Regions from separate parts of the Homo sapiens genome. Here region 1 is linked to region 2. The links are contacts of gene promoters, found by promoter capture Hi-C in human tissues and cell types (Jung and others, 2019). All regions are on one chromosome and are shown on one strand. Each heading gives the region's core, a stretch centred on a gene start or on the middle of the fragment in contact. The rest is flanking DNA. Distances are from core to core; before and after follow the strand shown.

The links. The method cuts DNA at HindIII sites, captures the fragments that hold promoters and counts their contacts. A contact is called where the count stands out against the background at its distance.
Region 1: a fragment that was not itself captured here is called in contact with the fragment with the promoter of PTPMT1 in region 2 in 1 of the 25 tissues and cell types used here (spleen).

Annotation. Positions count from the first base shown.
Region 1 is chr11:47,231,222-47,237,656 of GRCh38, forward strand. It overlaps DDB2 (damage specific DNA binding protein 2), which reads left to right. Exons shown (of 10, transcript NM_000107.3): 4 at 1,593-1,738; 5 at 3,352-3,451; 6 at 3,536-3,713; 7 at 4,049-4,191. Among named protein-coding and RNA genes, the nearest start is that of ACP2, 14 kb to the right of the region's middle. The HindIII fragment of the contact is 6,251 bases long and covers 477-6,435 here.
Region 2 is chr11:47,563,441-47,570,178 of GRCh38, forward strand. PTPMT1 (protein tyrosine phosphatase mitochondrial 1) reads left to right here and starts at 2,159. Exons shown (of 4, transcript NM_175732.3): 1 at 2,159-2,356; 2 at 2,466-2,546; 3 at 6,260-6,451. The coding sequence starts at 2,183. It also overlaps a transcript of CELF1 not described here. RefSeq lists enhancers at 1,670-2,170, 2,171-2,671 and silencers at 1,981-2,460, 2,591-2,670. The HindIII fragment of the contact is 19,699 bases long and covers 1-6,738 here.

The DNA.
Region 1 (6,435 bases), core at 2,352-4,851, 330 kb before region 2:
TCATGATTATTTTCATCATCATTTTCATGAATGTTTGGAAGAATAGGAAGGGGCACAGATCTGACTCCTGCCCTCCTAACTCAGCCACTGCTCTGAGCTGAAGCTCTTCTAAAGAGAGCACTGTGGGAATAACAAATTAGGGCACATCCATGTAATGGAATACCTCAGCAATAAAATGAGATGAGCTCTTGATACAGCAAACTCAGATGAATCTCAGAGGCATGATGAGTGAAATGAAACAAGACAGTCTCAAAAGGTTGCATACTGCCTAATTCATTTACATGACATTCTATTTTTAATTTTATTTTATTTTATTTTTAGAGACAGGGTCTTGCTCTGTCACCCACGCTAGAGTGCAGTGATTCGATCGCAACTCACTGCAGCCTCGACCTCCAGGCTTCCGTCATCTTCCCACCTCAGCCTTCTGAGTAGCTAGAACCACATGCACCTACCACCATGTCTAAATTTTTTTTGTGTGTGTAGAGATGGGGTCTCCCTATATTGCTTAGGCTGGTCTTGAACTCCTGGCCTCAAGCAATCCCCCCGCCTCAGTCTCCCCAGGTGTTGGGATTACTGTGCTCGGTCTATAGGACATTCTATGAGGGCAAAACAATAGTGATGGAGAACAGATCAGCCAGGGGCTGGGGGCGAGGGGAGGGTGTGATTACAATGGGATACCACGATGGAGTTTTTGGGCTGTTGCAAATGTTCTGCATCCTGATTTGGGTGGTGGTTATTTAAGTCTATACATATGTTAAAATTCAGAGAACTTTATATCCCAAATTTGCTATATGTTAATTAAAAAAAAAAGTAAAAATAAAGCCTTAAGAAATGAAGGGAGGCGGGGCACGGTGGCTCACGCCTGTAATCCCAGCACTTTGGGAGGCCAAGGGTGGCGGATTACCTGAGGGCAGGAGTTCCAGACCAGCCTGGCCAACATGGTGAAACCCTGTCTCTACTAAAAATATACAATTTAGCCATGCGTGGTGGTGGGCACCTGTAATCCCAGCTGCTTGGGAGGCTGAGGCAGGAGAATCGCTTGAACCTGGAAGGCAGAGGTTGCAGTGAGCCGAGGTCGTGACAGAGCAGGACTCCATCTCAAAAACATAAAAATAAAAATAAAAATAAAAAAAAGAAAGAAATGAAGGGGCCAGACAAAGCGGCTCATGCCTGTAATCTTAGCACTTTGGGAAGCCGTGGCAGGGGGATCGCTTGAGCTTAGGAGTTCAAGACCAGCTTGGGCAACGTGACAAAACCCCATCTTAAAAAAAAAAAATAGAAAAATTAGCTGGGCATGGTGGCACGCACTTGGGAGGCTGAGGTGGGAGGATCGCTTGAGCCCAGGAGATTGAGGCTGCAGTGAGCCGTGTTTGTGCCACTGCACTTCAGCCTAAGTGACAGAGAAAGACCCTATTTCAAAGGAAAAGAAAAAGAAGTGAAGGCCCTGTAGAGAGCGTCCTAGTGTCTAAGCTGACCTGGCCCCAAGCGCTGCTCGAGGGGTGCTTCTGTGACGGCGCAGCATGTGTGCCCAGGCCTGGTTCCTCACGGCCAGGCCCATCATCACTCACTGGCTTTTTCCTTCCTCGTGTTAGATTGGAGCTGGAGGGAGCATCACTGGGCTGAAGTTTAACCCTCTCAATACCAACCAGTTTTACGCCTCCTCAATGGAGGGAACAACTAGGCTGCAAGACTTTAAAGGCAACATTCTACGAGTTTTTGCCAGCTCAGACACCATCAAGTGAGTAGTTTAACTAGCAGGGGAAAGGGCTTCTAAGCTTAGGTGTAGTTCCGGCAAGAGCATCCAGATCCCATTTCCTTAACCCAACCTGGCCCAGGGAAGAAAGGAAAGATGTCAGCCACTTTCCGCCCTTCTTTCTCTTTCTCAAACTGCTCCTTGGCTGCCCTCACTTTGGTCCAGGTGGGTTACTGCTTTGGGAAGGTGTTCTGGAGCCTCAGCTCTTCTGTAAGTCATACCTGTATTAGACTGGACCTTGACCCTCACTAGATAAGCCAGCATGGCGTGGACCCAGAAAGCCACCTAGAGAATGGAGCAACAGCTCAGAACTTGAGACTGAATGCCCTGCACTCACTGTGGTGTAATGACCTGACCTGTTCCTGGGTGGAAGCTTATATGGATGGAATCTTTTCCATAAAGTGCTCTGGACTTCCCAAGAGAAAGTGGCTGGAGAAATTACAGAATGCGGCCGGGTGCAGTGGCTCATGCTTGAAATCCCAGCACTTTGGGAGGCCAAGGTGGGTGGATCACCTGAGGTCAGGAGTTCGAGACCAGCCTGGCCAACATGGTGAAACCCCCATCTCTACTAACAATACAAAAAATTAGCTGGGCGTGGTGGTAGGCCCCTGTAATTCCCAGCTACTTGGGAGGCTGAAGCAAGAGAATCGCTTGAACCCAGGAGGCAGAGGTTGCAGTGAGCCGAGATGGCGCCATTGCACTCCATCCTGGGCAACAAGAGCGAAAATCTATCTCAAAAAAAAAAAAAAAAAATTACAGAATACTCGTCACTTTGATTTCCAGCTAGAGCCGTGACTCTGACTGCTCCCTGAGGAATTAAGTGAGGGTGCTGGGGTGTAACTAGCATTGGATTGGATCCTGGGCTGTCCCGCAGGGATGAGGAGTGCATGCGCACGCAAATCAGCAGGCAATTGGATAGACAAGGCTCCAGGCTACTCTTCCGCAAGAAATCTTCCTGCTTGAAGATATTCATAGGGGATGGCAAAAGGCAGTGTAGCATGGATTTGAGAGTTTGAGAGAAAAACTGTGAGCTGAGCTCTTCTGGCTGAATAGCAGGATCCCTGAAGCACCCTCCTAGTCAGCCTCCCAGTCCAGTGGTTTGAGGGACCAGAAGAGCTCCTGGTTGTGTTTTTTCCCCCAGTGTTCAGAAGGGGGCAGAAGTGCTTTTCTAGCCAGCTCTGAGGAACAGGGCCAGGCAATCCCTCTTTGGCTTGTGTCTCCTTTGGCCTAAAGGGTGAAGAGTGAAAGGAGAGAGCAGTAAAGGAGGCTTGCTCAGAACCCGGGGTGTGGGGGGCAGGCGTGCCTCAGGGCTTGCTTTATGGTATAAGCTTTGTCTGCTTCAGGGACTTTTAGGAGCTGGGGATCCTGGGCCCAGCCATAACCAGACAGATTTCTGAGCCCCATTATCCCATCCCCTCTGTCTGGACGGTAGAGCAGTCTGAATGTTCCTCACTAGGAATCCACGGCAAGACAGTTATTCATTCATTCAACAAATATTTATTGAATGCCCGCTGTGGGTTAGTCACCGGAGCGGCAACAGTGAGTAAATAGGACTATCTCTGTCCCCAAGAATCTTACAACACAGTCTCTCCCTCCAGCATCTGGTTTTGTAGCCTGGATGTGTCTGCTAGTAGCCGAATGGTGGTCACAGGAGACAACGTGGGGAACGTGATCCTGCTGAACATGGACGGCAAAGAGGTGCGTTCTCCGAGGTCCTGCCTTTCCCTCCCTCACCCCCACCTCGGTTCTGTGTCCCCACCTGAACCGAGCTCTTCTCTGCAGCTTTGGAATCTCAGAATGCACAAAAAGAAAGTGACGCATGTGGCCCTGAACCCATGCTGTGATTGGTTCCTGGCCACAGCCTCCGTAGATCAAACAGTGAAAATTTGGGACCTGCGCCAGGTTAGAGGGAAAGCCAGCTTCCTCTACTCGCTGCCGCACAGGCATCCTGTCAACGCAGGTGTGATATCCCAGACCTCATCTCTCCTGCAGACCCTGCCTGTCTGACCACTGCTGGGGTTTTCCCTCAGTGTGGAAGCCACTACGTCAAACCTTTACCCCTGATAGCGTCTGCCAAGCTGATGTCTGGGAACCTTTGTGGCTGTGGCTGTCCCCATCAGCTGCTGAGTTTCCAGAATTTTTTTGTTGTTGTTCACAGCCCAGATTCACCTCTTCCTTTCCGCTCCTGTCTAGAGAGGAGTGGGAGGGAGAGTACCCCTGCAGGAGAAGGCCTGCAAGGCCAGGACCACAGAGGGCTTGTGGTTCCTTCAGCTCAGGGGCTTTTCACTTTGCCAGCTTGTTTCAGTCCCGATGGAGCCCGGCTCCTGACCACGGACCAGAAGAGCGAGATCCGAGTTTACTCTGCTTCCCAGTGGGACTGCCCCCTGGGCCTGATCCCGCACCCTCACCGTCACTTCCAGCACCTCACACCCATCAAGGTGAGTGGCGGTGGGAAGGAGCTCGCAGAAGGAGGCTGTGATCATGAGGCCGGAGCAGGTCTGCCCACAGTGGGGAAGGGCTGATGTGGTAAGCCTGCCACCCCAGATCGCTCCTGGCCCGAGCACAGAGCATCTCTTACCCATTGGCTCTCTCTCTTCCTTTTATCCCACTTCTGCCATCCCATATGGTTGAGTTTTCTGTCTCGCTGATAAGATATTTTTCTGAGTTTTTTCAGCCCAGCTCTGATCTCACTGTGAGAATTTTCTAAGATCCTGACCCTCTGTTCTGTCTTCTCAGCTTCAGTTACCTGTGTACAGTTGACCCACAAACCTTCATTTTTTATTTTTTTATTATTTTTTTTAAGGCAGGGTCTCGCTCTGTCACCCAGGTGGGAGTACAGTGGGGCAAGCATGGTTCATTACAGCCTTGATCTCCCAGGCTCAAGCGATCCTCCTGCCTCACTTTTTTTTTTTTTGTAGAGACAGGGTATTCTTGTGTTACCCAGGCTGATCCTTTTTTTTTTTTTTTTTTTTTTTCTTGAAACGGTCTTGCTCTGTCACCCAGGCTGGAGTGCAGTGGCACAAACATAGCTCACTGCAGCCTCAACCTCCTGGGTTCAAGCAATCCTTCCGCCTTAGCCTCGGAAGTAGATTGGACTACAGGTATGCGCCACCATACCCAGCTAATTTTTTTATTTTTTATAGAGATGGGGTTTTGCCATGTTGCCCAAGCTGGTCTTGAACTCCTAGGTTGAAGCCATCCCCCAACCTTGGCCTCCCAAAGTGCTAGGATTACAGGCATGAGCCACTGCGCCTGGCAACTTTGCCTTCTTAGTTTGTCTTGCAGGTTTCAGTGCTTCTAATAATAAAAATAAGTCTTTTATTTTCCCACCTTTTCTCAGGCTCTTGTTAATAGCTTCTCTATCATTAGTCCCCAACACTAATAGCTTTCAAGTCCTTTGATGCCTTTTTGCCTAAGCCCCCATGCAGACTGAGCTCTGCTAGTTCTGCATTCTTTTCCAAAACTACAGATCCTCTTCAGATCTTCAGGTTTTATGCCTATACTTCTCTGGTCAGTTCAGAATAGTGGTGGGGAGCGCCAGTTTCCAGCAGCCAGACCCCCCGGGTTAGAATCCTTGGGCAAATTACTTATATTTTGGATCTGTTTCCTCATCTGCAAAAAGGGAATACTAGTCTCTAACTGATAGGGTTGTTGTGAAGATGAGTCAGTATACTTAAAGCACTTGGCCCCATGCCCAGCACCTGGTAAGTACTGGTAAGTATTCAATAAATGATGATTGAATATTGAGTGGCCCCCACGTACCTCAATCACATCCAAGCTCTTAATAAATAATGTCAAGAATCCTTCCCCAGTTGGTGTTCCTGTTAATCCATCAGTGTTCCCGATAATCCATCTGTCTGCATGTCCCAGTTTGTATCTAGCCAGGTGTCGTAAGTCATTACAGCTTCCTGTGTGTGATTTGTGACTTATTTCTAAGCCTTCGCATGTACTATTTCTTCCTTCCTGCTAACCATGTCTTTCTTCCTTCAAAACTTCCTTGAGAAGTTTAGGAAAATCCCATCCAATTCTGCCATTTTAATAACTGCCAGATTTGTTTTTAGTGGGGTGATCTGGGGAATGTGGGTTTCCTTCTCTTTTTTAGCCATTAGCAATTTTACACTCAGCTCTTAGTTATTCGTGTTGATGGAGACAGGATGACAGTGGGGCTCCTCCAGAACTCAAGTCCTGTTAGGGTTTGGTCACCAGAGGCTTTTTCTGCTTTGTTGTAGGCCTCTTAGGTCAGTATCTGGGTCAGGCTGATGTTAAAACGTTTACCAGTTGGTATGATCTTAGGAAATGCAAATGAGGGAGAAGGCCTGAAGGTGCCCTAAGGGCCAGGGAGGCCAGCTAGGGATTAAAAATGTGCAATGGCAGAGGCACACACAACCTAAAACCATTCTTGTAGTTTTCTGTAAGACTTATCTCCATTATTAGGTTGGCTTGTTACTGGCAAATACTACTTTTTTTTTTTTTTTTTTGAGAGTCTTGCTCTGTCACCTAGGCTGGAGTGCAGTGACATGATCTTCACTCACTGCAACCTCCGCCTCCCGGGTTCAAGTGATTCCCCTGCCTCAGCCTCCCAAGTAGCTGGGACTACAGGCATGTACCACCACGCCCAGCTAATTTTTTTTTTGGTATTTTTAGTAGGGACGGGGTTTCACCATGTTAGCCAGGATGGTCTC
Region 2 (6,738 bases), core at 909-3,408:
TTTGGGAGACCAAGGCGGGTGGAACACCTGAGGTCAGGAGTTCAAGAGCAGCCCGGCCAACATGGTGAAACCCCATCTCTATTAAAAACACACACAAAATTAGCCAGGCATGGTGGCGGGCACCTGTAGTTCTAGCTACTGGGGAGGATGAGGCAGGAGAACTGCTTGAACCCGGGAGGTGGAGGTTGCAGTGAGTGGAGATGGCGCCACTACACTTCAGCCTAGTCAATAGAAGGAGACTCCGTCTCAAAAACAAAATATAAAAAAAAGAAAATGAATCTTTTAAAACCACCAGATGGGCCGGGCATGGTGGCTTATGCCTGTAATCCCGGCACTTTGGAAGGCCGAGGGGGACGGATCTCCTCAGGTCAGGACTTTGAGACCAGTCTGGCCAACATGGTGAAACCCTGTCTCTACTAAAAATACAAAACTTAGCTGGGCGTGGTGGCAGCTACTCGGGAGGCTGAGGCAGGAGAATTGCTTGAACCTGGGAGGCAGAGGTTGCAGTGAGCTGAGATCACGCCATTGCACTCCAGCTTGGGTGACAAGAGTGAAACTCTATCTTAAAAACAAACAAACAAACAAAATCTCCACCAGATGCTTGGGCCGGGCGTGTGGCTCATGCCTGTAATCCCAACACTTTGGGAGGCTGAGGCTGGCAGATCACCATAGGTCAGGAGTTCAAGACTAGCCTGGCCAACATGGTGAAACCCCATCTCTACTAAAAATACAAAAAAAAAAAAAAAAAAAAAAAGAAAGCCGGGCGCGGTGGCTCATGCCTGTAATCCTGGCACTTTGGGAGGCCAGGGGGATGGATCACCTGAGGTCAGGAGTTTGAGACCAGCCTGGTCAACATGTTGAAGCCATCTCACTAAAAATACAAAACTTAGCTGGGCGTGGTGACATGTACCTGTAATCCCAGCTACTCGGGAGGCTGAGGCAGGAGAATTGCTTGAACCTGGGAGGCAGAGGTTGCAGTGTGCTGAGATCACGCCATTGCACTGCAGCTTGGGTGACAATAGTGAAACTCTGTCTCAAAAACAAAAAACAAAAAACAAAAACTCCACCAGATGCTTGGGCCGGGTGCAGTGGCTCATGCCTGTAATGCCAGCACTTTGGGAGGCTGAGGTGGGCGGATCACCTTAGGTTCGAGACCAGCCTGGCTGACAAGGTGAAACCTCGTCTCTACTAAAAACAAAAGTTAGCTGGGTGTGGTGGCATGCACCTGTAATCCCAGCTACTCAGGAGGCTGAGGCAGGAGAATCGTTTGAACCCGGGAGGCGGAGGTTGCAGTGAGCTGAGATCTTGCGACTGCCCTCTAGCCTGGGCAACAGAGTGAGACTCCGTCTCAAAACAAACAAACAAAAAGTAAATAGCTGGCATTACAACCATTCTTCTTACCTTTTTGTAGGTTGCAGGTTTTATATTTGAGCTCTTCATAATATTTTTCTTAAGGATATATTAATATAATGTATATTTTCCTATTTTTTCCTGCTATGTAAACACTGCTGTTTGGTCAGATGAAGGAGGGAGCCCTGCCCTAGGACAGGGGAGGGGAGGAGGAAGGCGACCTCAACCCAGGACCCCTGTTCACCCTGGGATCAGGCCCTCACCCAGGTAGCTCCTCTGTTTGAAAGCTCTAAGCCCTTCCACTGTCCTCTTCAGGGCTACCCCGCCACACAGCCTCTCCTTGTCTTGTCTTCCCTTTGGCGGGGTCACACCCGCACCTGGGTCACTGCCCCCTTCCTCTGGTCGAGGGTTGGGGGGAGTGTCCCCTCCTCCCTCGGCCGGAGTCACAGTTCCACACGCAGGGGTCCTTCCTGCCCCTCTCACCTGGGGTCACAACCCCCCTCCCTCGGAGGAGGGAGGTCACCGGCCACAGGCGGGGGCCTCAGTTTCCCACGCTACAGGGCTCACACGTGTCTGGCCTGCGACGCGCTCTCCCTTCGCCGGGGTCCCAGTTTCCCGCCCAGGAAACCTCGGTCCCTCCTCCGAGGCCGCCGGGCCCTCCTCCAGAGTCCCGCCAGTCCCCCAGAGTCCAGGCCAGTCCCCGCCGTCACCCGGTGCGAGCCCGCGAGAGGCCTAGTGCAGCTGGCAGCCCCGCCCCGGCACCCGCCTGCTCTTCTCGCGGGTCCGGACCGCGAGCGCGGGGGCCGACGGGTCGCCGCTGCGCCGGGCCGGGATGGCGGCCACCGCGCTGCTGGAGGCCGGCCTGGCGCGGGTGCTCTTCTACCCGACGCTGCTCTACACCCTGTTCCGCGGGAAGGTGCCGGGTCGGGCGCACCGGGACTGGTACCACCGCATCGACCCCACCGTGCTGCTGGGCGCGCTGCCGTTGCGGAGCTTGACGCGCCAGGTGAGCCGGGCCGGGGAGCCCGGGCCCCTGCCCCGTCCCCGCCGCTCCGTCCCTGTCGGGCCGCTGGGGTCTCCACCGTCTTTGCTGAGCCACCTCTTTGCCTCGGCAGCTGGTACAGGACGAGAACGTGCGCGGGGTGATCACCATGAACGAGGAGTACGAGACGAGGTTCCTGTGCAACTCTTCACAGGTGAGGGACCGGGCCGAGGGGCAGGCTCGGGGGCCCGCTCCCCCTCGCCCACCGCCCTGAGCCTGGGACGGCTAGAGAAGTGTGGGGGAGGTCACCATGCACCGGAGCCAGGTGTCTCAAGCTGCTTTGCCTCCGGTCTGTGCCTCTAAATGGCACCTGGAGGTAGGCTAGAAGCTGTGAAAGGCGTTTATTTAAAAGTTCAAGTTGGGCCGGGCGCGGGGACTCACGCCTGTAATCCCAGCACTTTGGGAGGCGGGAGGAGGAGGCGGGCAGATCACTTGAGCCCAGGAGTTCCTGACCAGCCTGGGCAACATGGCGAGGCCCCCGTCCCTACAAAAATACAAAAAGTAGCCGGGAGTGGTGGCGTGCGCCTGTACTCCCAGCTACTTGGGAGGCTAAGGCAGGAGAATCACTTTAGCCCGGGAGGTGGAGGTTGCAGTGAGCCGACATCTCGCCATTGCATTCCAGCCCAGCCTTGGGCGACAGGAGTGAAACAATGTCTCAAAAAAAAAAAAAAAAAAAGTGGAAGTTGACAAAGCCTGATTTCTCCTTTGTGAACAAATGTAATGTATTCTTATTTCGGTAACCAAAATCAGAAACTAAAATTGAAAGGCAACTTTCCCATGCCTTCCTGATTTCATTCATTCTTTCTATACTTTGAGCTCTGAGTATGGGTCAGCATTCCCAGTGTTAGGGATTCCAGATGAAGGCCCTGCCAACTGTAAGACGAAAAGCACCCCCTTAACACTCTCCCCTCCCCAGATTTTTCATAAAACTATCCATTGAAAACTGTAGAGTTCATTTGGCTCTGATTTGGGGGAATTTTTAGTCATATATTAGAAATCATGGTGGAACTCCAAAGTTCTCTCATAACAAAGTTTAGGCCTAAAACATAACTTTCATTAAATGTGACTGGCCTGTTTGTGGAATCTTCCACAATGGTTATTAGAAGATGTTATCTACAATCTGAGCTATTTGATTTTTTTTTAATGTTGCCCTATCTTTATAGCGTTTGGCATCTAATAGCACTAAACAATTATCTTTCTCATTTGTTTTACTGATATAGCATGATGAAGATACTATTATTTCAACCTGAGGATTTTTTTGAAACCTTGAAAATATTTGTGACTTGGCCAGGCGTGGTGGCTCTCACACCTGTAATCCCAGCACTTTGGGAGGCTGAGGTGGGTGGATCACCTGAGGTCAGGAGTTTGAGATCAGCCTGGCCAAAATGGTGAAACCCCGTCTGTACTAAAATCACACAAAAAAATTAGCCGGGCGTGGTGGCAGGCGCCTGTAATCCTAGCTACTTGGGAGGCTGAGGCAGGAGAATCGCTTGAACCCGGGAGGCAGAAGTTGCAGTGGGCCGAGATTGCACCACTGCACGCCAGCCTGGGCGACAGAGTGAGTCTCCGTCTCAAAAAAAAAAAAGAATTACTGATCTTCATTTAGAACCATAAAGTCTCTGATACTCATTATTAAGAGGTTAATAACAAGAGTAGCTGGAGCATATCTGAAGTCTTAAAGCATAAAGTTTGCCCAGTTGCCAGAGACCTTATTTCTATTTCTTTTCTTTTTTTTTTTTTTTTTTTGAGATGGAGTCTCACTCCCTTGCCCAGGCTGGAGTGCAATGGTGCAATCTCAGCTCACTGCAACCTCTGCCTCCCAGTTCAAGTGATTCTCCTGCCTCAGCCTCCCAAGTAGCTGGAATTACAGGTGCCTGCCAGCATGCCTGGCTAATTTTTGTATTTTTTATGGAGATAGGGTTTTGCCATGCTGGCCAAAGTCGTCTCGAACTCCTGACCTCAGGTGATCTGCCCACCTTGGCCTCTCAAAATCTGGGATTACAGGCGTGAGCCACCACACCTGGCCACCTATTTCTTCTAAGTGATAACATTGCACTAATGAAGGTCAGTGCATTGTTTTAATTTTATTTTTGTTTTTGTTTTTGAGACGGAGTCTTGCTCTGTCGCCTAGGCTGGAAGTGCAGTGGCACGATCTCGGCTCACTGCAAGCTCCGCCTCCTGGGTTCATGCCATTCTCCTGCCTCAGCCTCCCAAGTAGCTGGGACTACAGGCGCCTGCCACCATGCCCGGCTAATTTTTTTGTATTTTTAGTAGAGACGGGGTTTCACCGTGTTAGCCAGGATGGTCTAAATCTCCTGACCTCGTGATCCGCCCGCCTTGGCCTCCCAAAGTGCTGGGATTACAGGCATGAGCCACCATGCCCGGCCCATTGTTTTAATTTTAAAATGATAACCCTATTTTCTACCATATGTTCCCTCAAAAAACAGTGGTAAAAAAGAGACTTATGGACAGAGAAATAGAAAGCCTTGGCAAAATATTGTACCCCAAATCTGCAGCTGAATCACTACACAGGTGCCAAAATTATGCAAAAAAATTACACTGGCTGGGCCTGGTGGCTCATGCCTGTAATCCCAGCATTTTGGGAGGCTGAGACAGGAGGATGGCTTGAGGCTAGGAGATTGAGACCAGCCTGGGCAACATAGCGAGACCCCCATCTGCACACACACAAAAATAACAAAATTAGCCAGGCACAGTGGCATGCAGCTGTAGTCACAGCTACTTGGGAGGCTGAGGTGGGAGGACTGCTTGAGCTTAGGAGTTTGAGGCTGCAAGGAGCCATGATTGCATACCACTGCTCTCTGACCTGGGTGACATAGCAAGATCGTGTCTCTAAAATAAAATATATATATATTTTTGAGATGTTGTTTTGCTCTTGTCTCCCAGGCTGGAGTACAATGGTGCGATCTCTGCTCACTGCAACCTCTCCCTCCAGGGTTAAACAATTCTCCTGCCTCAGCCTCCCTAGTAGCTGGGATCACAGGCATCCACCACCACGCATGGCTAATTTTTGTATTTTTAGTAGAGACAGGGTTTCCCCATGTTAGCCAGGCTGGTCTCAAACTCCTGACCTTAGGTGATCTGCCCGCCTTGGCCTTGCAAACTGTTGGGATTACAGGCGTGAGCCACCATGCCCGGCCAAAATAAAATGTTAAGACGTTTGCAGCTGAATTTTTTGCAGCTAAAATGTATATAGCTAATATCTTGCAGCTAAATATTCAAGTACCCAAAGGGTAGTTTAAGAACACTTTACCTGCTGGTGTGGTGGCTCACACCTGTAATCCCAGCACTTTGGGAGGCTGAGGCAGGCGGATGACCTGAGGTCAGGAGTTCGAGACCAGCCTGGCCAACATGATGAAACCCCGTCTCTACTAAAAATGCAAAAATTAGCCAGGCTTGGTGGCGCGTGCCTGTAGTCCCAGCTACTCGGGAGGCTGAGGCAGGAGAATCGCTTGAAACTGGGAGGTGGAGGTTGTGGTGAGCTGAGATCACGCCACTGTACTACAGCCTGGGCAACAGAGCGAGACTCTGTCTTTAAAAAAAAAAAAAAAAAAAAAAGGAACACTTTAAATCTTGGACATAATTCTAACTCAGCAGCATAGCTGTTGCTTGATGAAAAACCAACCATGTAGGCCAGCCATTTTAAAGACATTTCTGTCCTCACCTGGAATGGGAAAAAAAAGCATTTCTGTAAGAAGTTTCTATTTTAGAAAACAGGCAACAGTGTATTCCCATTGTAGTAAACCCTGAAACTTCCTTGTTGCTTTGCTGCTTCTTGGGAGCCCCTTATCATCCCACCCACATAGTTTTTTTTCATTCTCTTTTTCATACTGGTGGACCTGGTTCCAGGAGTGGAAGAGACTAGGAGTCGAGCAGCTGCGGCTCAGCACAGTAGACATGACTGGGATCCCCACCTTGGACAACCTCCAGAAGGGAGTCCAATTTGCTCTCAAGTACCAGTCGCTGGGCCAGTGTGTTTACGTGCATTGTAAGGCTGGGCGCTCCAGGAGTGCCACTATGGTGGCAGCATACCTGATTCAGGTACCAAAGTTCTTTCTGGGCTGGGCATCGTGGTACACACTTATGATCCCAGCACTTTGGGAGGCTTGAGATGGGAGGATGGCTTGAGCCCAGGAGTTTGAGACCAGCCTGGGCAACATGGCAAAACCGTCTCTACAAAAAATACAACAAGTTAGCTCAGTGTGGTGGTGTGCACCTGTAGTCCCAGCTACTTGGGAGGCTGAGATGGATCACCGGAGCCCAGTAGGTAGAGGCTGCAGTGAGCCGTGATTTGTGCCACTGCACTGCAGCATAGCCAACAGAGTGAA